Linked DNA regions of Homo sapiens: region 1 is linked to region 2. Evidence: promoter capture Hi-C in human tissues and cell types (Jung and others, 2019). All regions are on one chromosome and are shown on one strand. Each heading gives the region's core, a stretch centred on a gene start or on the middle of the fragment in contact. The rest is flanking DNA. Distances are from core to core; before and after follow the strand shown. Region 1 overlaps PLCE1 (phospholipase C epsilon 1). Region 2 holds the start of PLCE1 (phospholipase C epsilon 1).

Evidence for each region. The method cuts DNA at HindIII sites, captures the fragments that hold promoters and counts their contacts. A contact is called where the count stands out against the background at its distance.
Region 1: a contact is called between a fragment that was not itself captured here and the fragment with the promoter of PLCE1 in region 2, in 1 of the 25 tissues and cell types used here (mesenchymal stem cells).

The regions. Positions count from the first base shown.
Region 1 is chr10:94,307,464-94,312,963 of GRCh38, forward strand. It overlaps PLCE1 (phospholipase C epsilon 1), which reads left to right. Exons shown (of 33, transcript NM_016341.4): 27 at 1,118-1,236. Among named protein-coding and RNA genes, the nearest start is that of PLCE1-AS1, 23 kb to the left of the region's middle. The HindIII fragment of the contact is 5,549 bases long and covers 1-4,371 here.
Region 2 is chr10:93,992,198-93,997,386 of GRCh38, forward strand. PLCE1 (phospholipase C epsilon 1) reads left to right here and starts at 1,734. Exons shown (of 33, transcript NM_016341.4): 1 at 1,734-2,061. It overlaps LOC105378438 (a long non-coding RNA gene), which reads left to right. Exons shown (of 4, transcript XR_946215.2): 4 at 1,023-1,522. RefSeq lists a silencer at 1,548-1,837. The HindIII fragment of the contact is 15,571 bases long and covers 1-3,893 here.

The DNA of each region.
Region 1 (5,500 bases), core at 347-2,846, 320 kb after region 2:
TCTTCTGTGTGCAAGTAGCCCGTGGTCATTTAATTAGTCTGCTCAGGCTGCCATCATGGAATACCACAGACTAGGTGGCTGAACCACAGAAATGTATTTCCTCGCAGTTCTGAAGGCTGGAAGTCTGAGATCAGGGTGTTGGCAGGTTTGGTTTCTTCTAGGGCCTCTCTCCTTGGCTTGCAGATGGTCCCCACACAGTCAGCCCTCTATGTTGTCTGTGTCCTAATCCCCTCTTCTCATAAGGACACCAGTCCCACTGGATTAAGGCCCACCCTAAGGACCCCATTTTAACTTAGTTACCTCTTTAAAGACCCTCTCTTCAAATATAGTCACATTCTGAGGTACTGAGGGTTAGGACTTCTACACAAGAATGGGGAGTATAGGGTCGGGGGAGACCCATAACTGTTATTATAGAAATGTGAGAAAGTACATAGAAACAAAAACAATTTTTTTTTAATTATCCATTTTTCCATCTCTCCAACACAGTCACTCTTGGTGTATAAGTCTTGCAGGCTTTGTTTCTCTCCCCATGTACGTAACACATGAGCATACAGATATATTTTTAACAAACAGGCTTTCTACTAATCTTTGTGTTTTGTAACTTACTGGTTTTCACTTACTAATGTATACAGTGAGCAACCTTTCATGTTAATAACTATACATGTACATTACCATTTTTACCAGCTGTGTATTATTCCATTCTATACTTACACTTACAGTCATACCATAAATTATAACCAATCTTCCATTGTGGGAATGTTCTATTATCACTAAAGCTGCTCTAAGATGGAACATTTGTAAAACAGGGACTGTTAGTCTGTTAGTGCTTCATTCACAGGGACTGTTAGTGATCAGGTTTTCCTACTAGATCAGGTTTTGTCTGAGTTTAAGGTTTTCTGTTTGAGTCTAAGTTGGAAACAGTACTTGGACAAATTAATTGCCATTGGGTAACTCAGGGGGCAGCACTCTCTTGGCGAAAAGACGCCTGTTGGTTGCATGCCTGTTGCCATCCCTGCCCATTTTAAGGTCTTTCTACCTGTCATTTGCCGACTTCCAGGAGCATCTTCTTTTCAGTAGCCATGGTTAACAAGCTTTTCCCAATTCTGTATTACTCCAGGATATCGACATCTTCAGCTGCGAAACCTTCACAATGAAGTCTTGGAGATTTCTAGTTTATTCATTAACAGCAGAAGGATGGAAGAAAATTCCTCTGGCAATACCATGTCAGCCTCTTCGGTAATGAAGTTCTGTTTCACTCAACATATTTATGGGGATTGCTACACTGAAGGTGGGCTTTTTTGTGGCCCAGCAAAGTGGTCGGTGTGAGTTATTAATTAGGTAGCTATGGAAATTAATAACAATAATGGCTGACACTTGGCACTGACTAAGCACTTTACGTATATACTAACTCAGTCCTCTCAATAACGTCAGGCAGTAGCTATTTAGTATCATCTCCATTTTGCAGATGAGAAAGGTAGAGCTAAGTACATCTGAGGTCACACAGCTAGCAAGCAGCAGTCCAGGATTTACACCCAAGTTCCAGTAACAAAGCCCATATATTACAGTGTCTATCAGGGAAGTAAGCCAAATATAACAAAGTGAGGAAGAGGCTTATTATGCGAAGCCTAGTAGGAAGCATTTCCAATACTTCTAGAAACTTTAGGTTAAACCAGGAAAATATTTTGTTTCTTCAGCAGTCCAGGGGCAAATGTCACAGGCAGAGCAAGGCTGGAGTGAGCAATAGGCTCTGCTGGCGATGCATAACTTGCACCTCAGTGCTTGGCAGATGCAGAAGCTGCTCCCTTGAGAATGGAAGAAGGACACTGTAGAAAGTGCCATAGTTGCAGAATCTGCTTTTTTTTTTTTCCAGAGACAGTGTGTCTCTGTCACCCAGTGTCACTCTGTCACCCAGGTTGGAGTGCAGTGGTGCCATCCTGGCTCACTGCAGCCTCGACCTTCCTGGCTCAAGCAATTCTCCCACCTCAGCCTCCTGAGTAGATGGGACTACAGGTGTGTGCCACTATGCCCAGATAATGTTTTTCTATAGAGATGGGGTCTCACTATATTGCCCAGGTTGGTTTTAAACTCCTGGACTCAAGCGATCCTCATGCCTTGGCCTCCCAAGGTGGCCTCCCAAGGTGCTGGGATTACAGGCATGAGCTACCGCACCTGGCCAGAATCTGCTTTTTAACAAGTGCCTCATGGAAACTCAGTGCCCACTAAAGTTTGAGGACACTTGGACCATGGCCCCCTCACTAATGCAGGATGGTTTAATTAGGTAAGAATCTGGGCTGAGTGCAGCGGCTCATGCCTCTAATCCCAACACTTTGGGAGGCCAAGGCAGAAGGATAGCTTGAGTCCAGGAGTTCAAGATCAGCTTGGGCAAGACCCCATCTCTATTAAAAAACGTGTTTTAATTGAGCATAGTGTCGAGCACCTATAGTCCCAGCTACCTGGGAGGCTGAGGCAGAAGGACTGCTTGAGTCCAGGAGTTTGAGGCTACAGTGAGCTATGATCACACCACTGCACTCCAGCATGGACAAAGAATGAGATCCTGTCTCTAAAAAAGGTATTTTTAAAACAACTACTTTAATTAACTGGCTAATTCCATTATGCTTCCTCTTTAAACATACATTTTAAAAGTGTATCCATTGGTTACCCCCTTTACATGTTTAATAATGTGATTACTTCTGTGTCAATCTCAGACTCAACGTAGTCCTAACAATCTTTGGAAAGGCACCTTCTGCGCTCACAATGGCACTGGCCATGATGGCTTCCACTGCCACTTTCTGCTTTCTTTTCTGCCCTTCTCCTGCCCTCACCACTATCAGTTTTGACTCCCGCTGTCCCTGCCCTTGTTTGCTTAGGTGTTCCTCCTTTTTCCCTTCATCACTCCACAGCAACCTTCACTGTACATTTGTATCACCTGGGGAGCTTTAAAAACTCCATGTGCACAGGCCACACCCCGCACCAATTAAACCAGAGTCTCTGCAGGTGGGCCCCAGGCATCAGTTTTTTTAAGGATCATCAGGCGATTGCACCATGTGTCCAAGGTTTAGAAGAGCACTTTGGCCAAAGTGGAGGGAGGTGTGGCTTCCACCTTGTGCAGAGGATTGACAAGCAAGGGCAGGGCCGCGTGGTACAAAGAGCAGGAATCACATGCTTTCAGAAAGGCAGAGCAGGGCCAAATACCCAATTCTGAGCTGGGTGACCTCGATATCTGTTACAGCTGAAGATTCCACAGATGCCACAAATGAACTGTTTTTACTCACGACACTTCTGACACCAAAAACATGGTGTCTTTTCCAACTCTCTGGCAACAGCTGGGTGTCCTACATTTCAGTTCAATTCTAACACTATCCATCTAGAGTTGGTGTCAGATCCCACACATTGAGGGCTCAGTCCCACAAGACTACTCCTACTTCAGATGCCAGTCAGAAGTCCCAGGTTGTCACCAGGACTTCTGACCAAACAGCTATAAATTCAGGGGATCCATATAAATCCTCAGATTCAAGAGTTTGCTAGAATGACACAGAACTCACAAGAGTGCTTTGCTTATTATCACCAGTTGATCAGAACAGATGTACTTCAGGAGCAGCCTCATGGAAGGATGCATGGAACAAGGTATGGGAGGAGGAGTGCAGAGCTTCCATGTCCTCTCCAGGCCACCCTCCCAGAACCTCGATGTGTTCACCAACCTGGAAGCTCTCGGAACCCCATCATTTAGGGTTTTTATGGAGGTTTCATGACCTGGGCATGATTGGTTCAATTATTGGCCACTGGTGATCAGTTCAGTCTTCAGCCCCCTCCCCTCCTTGAGGTCTGGCAGCAGGGCTGAAGGTTTCACCCTTCTAATCATGCCTTGGTCTTTCTCAGCCACCAATCATCTCATTAGCAACAAAGGACACTCTTATCACTCCAGAGATTTCAAAGGTTTTAGGAGCTGTGTGGCAGAAACTGGGGACAAAGACCAAATATGTATTTTTTGTTATATCACACCTTGCCATCCTTGGGCTTCCTGGGCAGCCATATATGGATATGTGCTTGGTAAATGTGCATTTGACCATGGAGAGCATCACTCTCCATTGCTGAAGCCAATAACTGTAGATCATCCTGGCCTTCTGCCCCATTTAAGACTTGATCATTCTATTTCCTTAGTATCTTTCAAATCCATTCATCTTGATCTGTCTTTATTGCCTTGGCCCTGGTTCATTCTCACCTGGCTTGTGGTAGAGTCTTCCTAATTGGTCTCATTTCCTCTGGGTTTGCCACCTCTGTCTGTCCTCATCTAGGGCATCCCAAACAGATCTATCTAAATATGATCATGTCACTCCTCTGTGGAAAACCCTCCATCAGTTCTCCATTGCTTTCAGGGTATAGTTTATACCAGAAGTAACAAATTCACATGCCAGGAGGATCCCAAGAAGATGATGTGCAGGCATGGACCTGGGCTGAGCACAGACTCTTAGAAAGCAGAGAGCTCATGGGTCATTTAGAGGGGAGCTCATGGGTCATTTAGAGGGGCAGCTGTCACCTAGCTCTCAGCTCTAGCTGCTTGTTGCCTTGTGATGTCGTCAGATCTCTTGGTTTTTCAAGAGAATCAGGACATCTGGGGTTTTGTAAATGTTGGCAACTATTTAATCTTTTTAATTAATAATATAGTGCAAGCTAAATGATACAATTAGAATGTGTGCATTTTATAGTATGACAATTATACTTCAGTAAAACTGATTTTAAAAAAATCACATTGTGCAAGCATAACAAAGACAACCTCTCCTCCCCACCCCAAATAAAAATTAAGTACATGCTAAACAATACACTTCAGCCCTCAGGTCCTCATTTTGCCAGTTTCAGTCTAAATTTTAGCCAGTTAGGCAAAGCCCTGAATGGCTGTGCTTTTGCCTGCATCTCCAGCCTTTCTCCCTCCAACAGGTTAGTTGTAGAACTTGCTGAGGTTCCCAGAATGCCCTGCTGTAGGCCATTTCTAAGTCTTCATACACATGTTACGTCAATTTGGGGTTCTCTTGTCTCATTCTTCATCTGCTAAATTACACTAGGTCCTTCAAGATTTGGTTCAGATACCATTTTTCAGAAAGCCCTCCCTGGTTTCTCCCTTACCTCTTCTAGGCCACCTCCTCTGGAACTTAAAATGCTCTTTACAACTGCCTACTTTCCCCTCTAGCTATCTCATTCAACTGGAAGCCCTTGGCAGGGATAGTGTCCCATTTGCCCCTGATTTTCTAGGGACAGGCATAATGACTGATTCACTATAAGCCTTCCATAAATTATTTATTTCAAATGAATATATCTTAATACACAAAATGCCCGAAGAATTGAGTTACACACTTACCGACCTCTTTCTAACAGATATATGTTTGCATTCTAATGATTCATGTGCCTGAATGATGTACTCTCTAAAGGCAGAACATTTTATTATTACCATCCAAATTTCTAGCCCAGTACCCTGAAGAGAGATGGAACTCAATAGATACTATGGAAC
Region 2 (5,189 bases), core at 484-2,983:
GGACCTAGATTTGCCTTGCTTACTAATCATGCAATGACTCATTTGGAGGATTCAATGTTAACTGCTTGTGCATCTACCAGTTTGTAGCTATCTATTCCCATGTGCCAAATTAAAAAAAAAAAGTCTTTGGGGGTGCCAGGTGATGGATGAAGTTTGATATTATTTGATCATTAAATGAATTATAAAACCATAATATAATACTGTATATTAAATAAATAGCCTACCTTGTTTATTGTCAGTGATGCTACCTCTTTCCTCAGCCCTTTATTTACTTGTTCAGGATAACATAGCCTCAGGGATTGAGTAAATTACCACTTCTCACTGTCCTAGTGCTAAAATGCCAAGATCTTAAGGAACAAAGAATTTCTTTAGAGCCCTCTGCAGAGACCTTTCTGAAATCAGCTCTCCAGGGAGGCAATCATGTTAGTTTTCATTAAAGTCCTAGTGGTGAGAAAACAGCAAGACAGTTTAAGGACCAGACTGGCAGATTTTTCTTAACAGCAGGATTCTTTGGGCCTCCTGTGCTTTCTTGCTCCAACCTCTCCTGTGTTCTGGAGCCTCCAAGAAGGAGAGATCACTTTTAAGAGGGACCCGAAAGAAAGGGTCAAACATGAGCAGGAGGAAAGTGTGTGGGAGGAGATGCTCCAGGTAGAAGGCTCAGCTTAAGTTCAGGTACAGAGCTAGAGTGGGAGAGACATTCTGTTGGGTGATCCTTATTAGCCAGGGCATGCTGGGTTACACAGCCATGGAGAGTTAGTTTGGAGGGCAATAGGGAGCCAGTGAAGTTTTCTGCATAGATTAAAGTTGTAAAAAAGGAAGAATAATACAGCGGTGGTTTGAAGGATTGATTTGGTCCAAGGGAGAGGACAGTGGGAGGCGATATGGGCCACAGGAATGGGTCCTGATCGGATGTAGGAGAAGAGGTCAGGCCTAGGGAACGGTCTTCCATTAGAACAGGTAGAGGGAGGAGGCACAGGTTTAGGCGAAAGGGAGGAGGATGATGATTTGATTTTTTTTTCCAGGTCCTTGGCTCTCCTAAGACTCATAAAAGCCGCTCCAGCGGCTAAGGAAGTTCTGTGCAAAGCCTGTAGTTTCTAGTTGTGAAGATCTTCAGGTTTGCTTGAGCAATGAAAGAGTACTGGATTTGGAGTCCGCAGTCCTGGATGGCCACCATTACCAGCAAAAGGAGTATTTCCGGAGCCTGGCACAACGCTGGGCACATTGATGGGGCTCAATGAATATGTATTAAATGAACGAGTGACAGAACAGATTCGAGACTTGGTGCTGCCATCTACTACAGAGACCTTGATCGTGTCCTTTATCTGCCGTGAACCTCAGTTTCCATATCTGTCAACCAGGGGTGGTTCCCTGGGGTAGTGTGAGAGTAAATTCCCGCCGCCTGAGGTGTGCAGAGTTCCCGCCCTTCCCGGAGCCGGGCGCCCCAGGAGCGCTCTCTCTGGCTCCCGCCAGAAAGGATGGCTCCTAGGGGTCAGGGCCAGGGGTCTGGGAAGGGGTCGCGCCGCCAGCAGCCAGCTCCGGGGGAGGCGGCCGGGTCCTCGCTCCGCGCCCGCCTTCCCCGCGCGGCAGGAGCCGGGGGCGGGCCCGGCACAGGCCGCTCCCCCGCCCGGCCGCCCGCGGTGGCGCTAGCGGCCTCTCACCCGGGGCGGGCGAGTTCTGGGAAAGCCCGGCCCAGGGCGGGGGCCCCGCTGCCGCCCGCGCAGCCGCCGCTGTCCGGGCAGCGCGCACATCTCGGCGGGAGCGGACTGTGAACGGCGCGGGTCCACACGGTAACGCTGGGCAACGTGGGCAACGCGGCGGGCGGCGGGCTCGCGCGGCGGGAGGGGCAGCGGCGGCGCGCCCGGGCTCTACCTCCCGGGCTCTGCCTCCCGGGCTCTGCCTCTCGGGCACTTGCCTGGCTCCTGCGCGTTCCTGGGCATCGGCTCTGCAGCTGACACACAGTAGCGGGGACACCCGACGCCGCTAGCGACAGGCGCGCGGACGGCTGGTCCCAGAGGGACGCTGCGCTTGGGGACGCCGGCGAGACTCGCCAGGAGCCAAGAGGTGAGGAAGCGACTCTGTAGCTCGGTTCCTGAGGACTGGAGAAAGGGAAGGATGGGCTGGTTCTCTCCCAAGGCAGTCGACCCGCCTAAGGGAGCAGCCCGACTCCGCGTACCTGGCGGAAAAGTGTCCTCGCGCTCCCGGGGGACCCGAGGCGGGCGGTCCTCCAGGGCATGCAGGCCGCCCTCGCAGGGGCTAAAGGACACCCTGCCAGTGCCTTCACTCCAGACGCCTGCCTCAGGTCGCCCCTTCGTGTTGTGAATACGGTGTGGAGGTGGCCAGTGCAAAGAAAAACGTAAGCTCTTTTTGTGGCGGTACTTAGCAGCGGTATTTCAAGGAAAGTGCTCAAGAGATTGTTCCTGGAGAGATTTGTGTACATCAAGTCCTAGAAAATACAATATTGGACCAGGTCCCGCTCTAACTGATAACTAGAATAGCTAGCTTTGCCTTCAAGTCCTTTAATGCTACAGTAATAAATACACTAGAGCAAGAAGTCTTCTGTCGTGGCGAATGTTAGGTGCACAGCGTAAATTTGTGGAAGCTTTCGCCCCTCGCTCTGTATTTAAGCCATCAGACACTGAGTTCAGCCGACTTAACCAATTATTCAGTGTAAGACTCATTTAGTGATTAATCAGTGTCATTTTAAATAGTGAGTTCCCTGAATACCTGTTAAGTAGGATTCACGTCTTCGAAAAGTTTTATTTGCACGAAGGTCATAATTTCAGTTGCATTATGCAAAATTTGCCCGTAGGTCTTTTAGATCTCTGCAGGATTGGTATGTTTTCATGTTTCTTATACCCCCCGTAGAGGTAGGGCAGGGCCGCTGCCACAGAATGGGCACTACTGAGGCCAAGAATGCTTGACCCCACTAGGGAGAATTTTTGAGAGCCTGACTTGGGAGGTGGAAGCAGGTGACCCCATAGGTGCTTGTACAGGTGCCCAGTTGTCATTGAGGAGAGAGGTGGACTATCTCTAGGTTATTGTATGCATCGATGTCTTCATAAATACTTTTCTGAAGAATGTCTGATGGTGTTGTCATCTAGACCATCTGATGGCACATCTTCCCCCACATCCACCACTCTAAAGTCTAACCATCCTTCAAACTGTGTTTTGCTGGTGGTGTGAGGCTTTTCCTGAAACAGCCAACCTCCCCCTGCTCTGATTTCTGCAGCATTTTTTCTCCAGGGCCCTTTCTGCTCTCTACCTTCTGGGAGTTATTTATGTAGATGTCTCATTTTCCCTACTGAAGGCATTTGCTGTGGCTTTCATGGCAAAATGCTTGCACCTAGAAGACTCTAGAGATAATTGTGGGCCAGTATTAAATCTTAAGACTTTGGTTTTACAACATAAATATCTACTTTGGAGAAGGAGATAATATAATTGAAAGGAGCTAGAGGAATGTATAATGTTTACCATTAACACTATCCTTTATTTACAGCCCCATGGGGGAAATTCCCTTTATACCCAGGAGCCATGTCTTACCAGGTAAGAAGCCAGATTGAACTGGAGGGACATTCTTCCAGTCCTCTTAGTAACATAAACTCCTGGGATGTGGTCCAAGTTTGACCTGTCATTAAAAATTCCATACTCCAGTGGGTTAGAAGCTAGATTCCAATGAAGGCGGTTGGTTTTGTTTTTCTATTTACAACCATTCTTAGTCACATTCTTCTCTGGGCTTTTGTTGTATACTTTAAAAAAACTGTTTGATGTGCAATTTGTTACCTGTAACTTTCTAAATGAATAAAAGAAGATTGAAAAAATACTGTGCATGGTGGAAGAGTTTTCTAAAGTAGACAGCAGGGGACGTTTCCCATGCCTGGGCAAGAGGAGGGATTTGCACAGAGTGAGGCTTGCTGCACGTGTGTGTGTGTGTGTGTGCGCGCGCGTGTGTGTTCCACACACCTGGCTGACAGGCGCCTATATAGGACAGTTGCTTTAGTCTTAATGCCTTCTCTCTCTGCCGGAACTACTTCTGCGGTGGAAGAACAATAAAACAGAGCTTCTGGGTTCAGAAGGAGAAGCAGAGGAAAAGCCAAAAACAGTAGAAGCAGCTAAGAGTGTGAATTTGTTTGCTGAAGTTGCTTTCCTCCCAACGTTCAGTTGAGATCTGTGGCATTGAGCAAGTAGGGGTTTGGTTGAGGCGAGGGAAGACAGGTGATTAGGAAACATGGTGCTTCTGGAAGAGGGGTGGAAGGTTCTGATAGGGTTTTAGGGAAGCATGTGATTTAGTTATGTAAGGCCCAAAGAGGAGAGTTGGAGATGGAGGAGTAGGGAATGGAGAAAGAGAGGAAGACGATATCAAAGATGCATTTTGTTATAGGCCAACCATGTGGCCTACAAAGAAGGGCAGAACTCTCTCTAGCATCATGTGTTCCTCTCTGCTCCCTGGATGCAGAATGCAGGGTTTTTACCGAGGCTATAATTCATCTGTGTTATGGCTTAAATAGATTTTCGTGGGCCAGATTGGGAACCAAGCCCTCGGAGGCTACATTGTCCAACATGGTAGTCACTAGCCACATATGGCTATTTACATTTGAATTGAAATTAGTTAAATGAAATTAACCACCCATATTTCAAGTGCTTGATAGCTACATGCAGCTAGTGGCTACTGTATTGGACAGTGCAGATATAGAACATTTTCATCATCTCAGAAAATCCTTCCCTAGAGGATTGTTTCAAAGGGGTAATTCCTATTAATCTCCAAAGTGTACTGGTTTCCAAATGAAATTTAGTCATAACTTTAAAGTTTCCAAATTTTACATGAAAATAATAGAAGTTGTTGTTGGTAACACTATGGTGCTTACTACATGCCAGGCACCACTCCAAGAACTTTTATCAATTAACGCATTTAATTTTTATATATTACTCAGTCAATGTGAGAGATCTTATCCTTTAGCTGTATTTCCAAAATCAAAAAAGCTCTAAAAACTGTGATTTTCATAAATTTGGCTACAAAACTTGGTCTGAAGTGACGTGAGGTTATGACAGTCTTTATTTTTCTCACTTGGTGAGAACTACACATATATTTTTACTTCAGAAATTATGGGCATATTTTATTTGCTGCAGATACCATTGAAAGTGTTATGTAAGATATGGCATATGCATTTTTACCATTACAAAATCCATAAAGC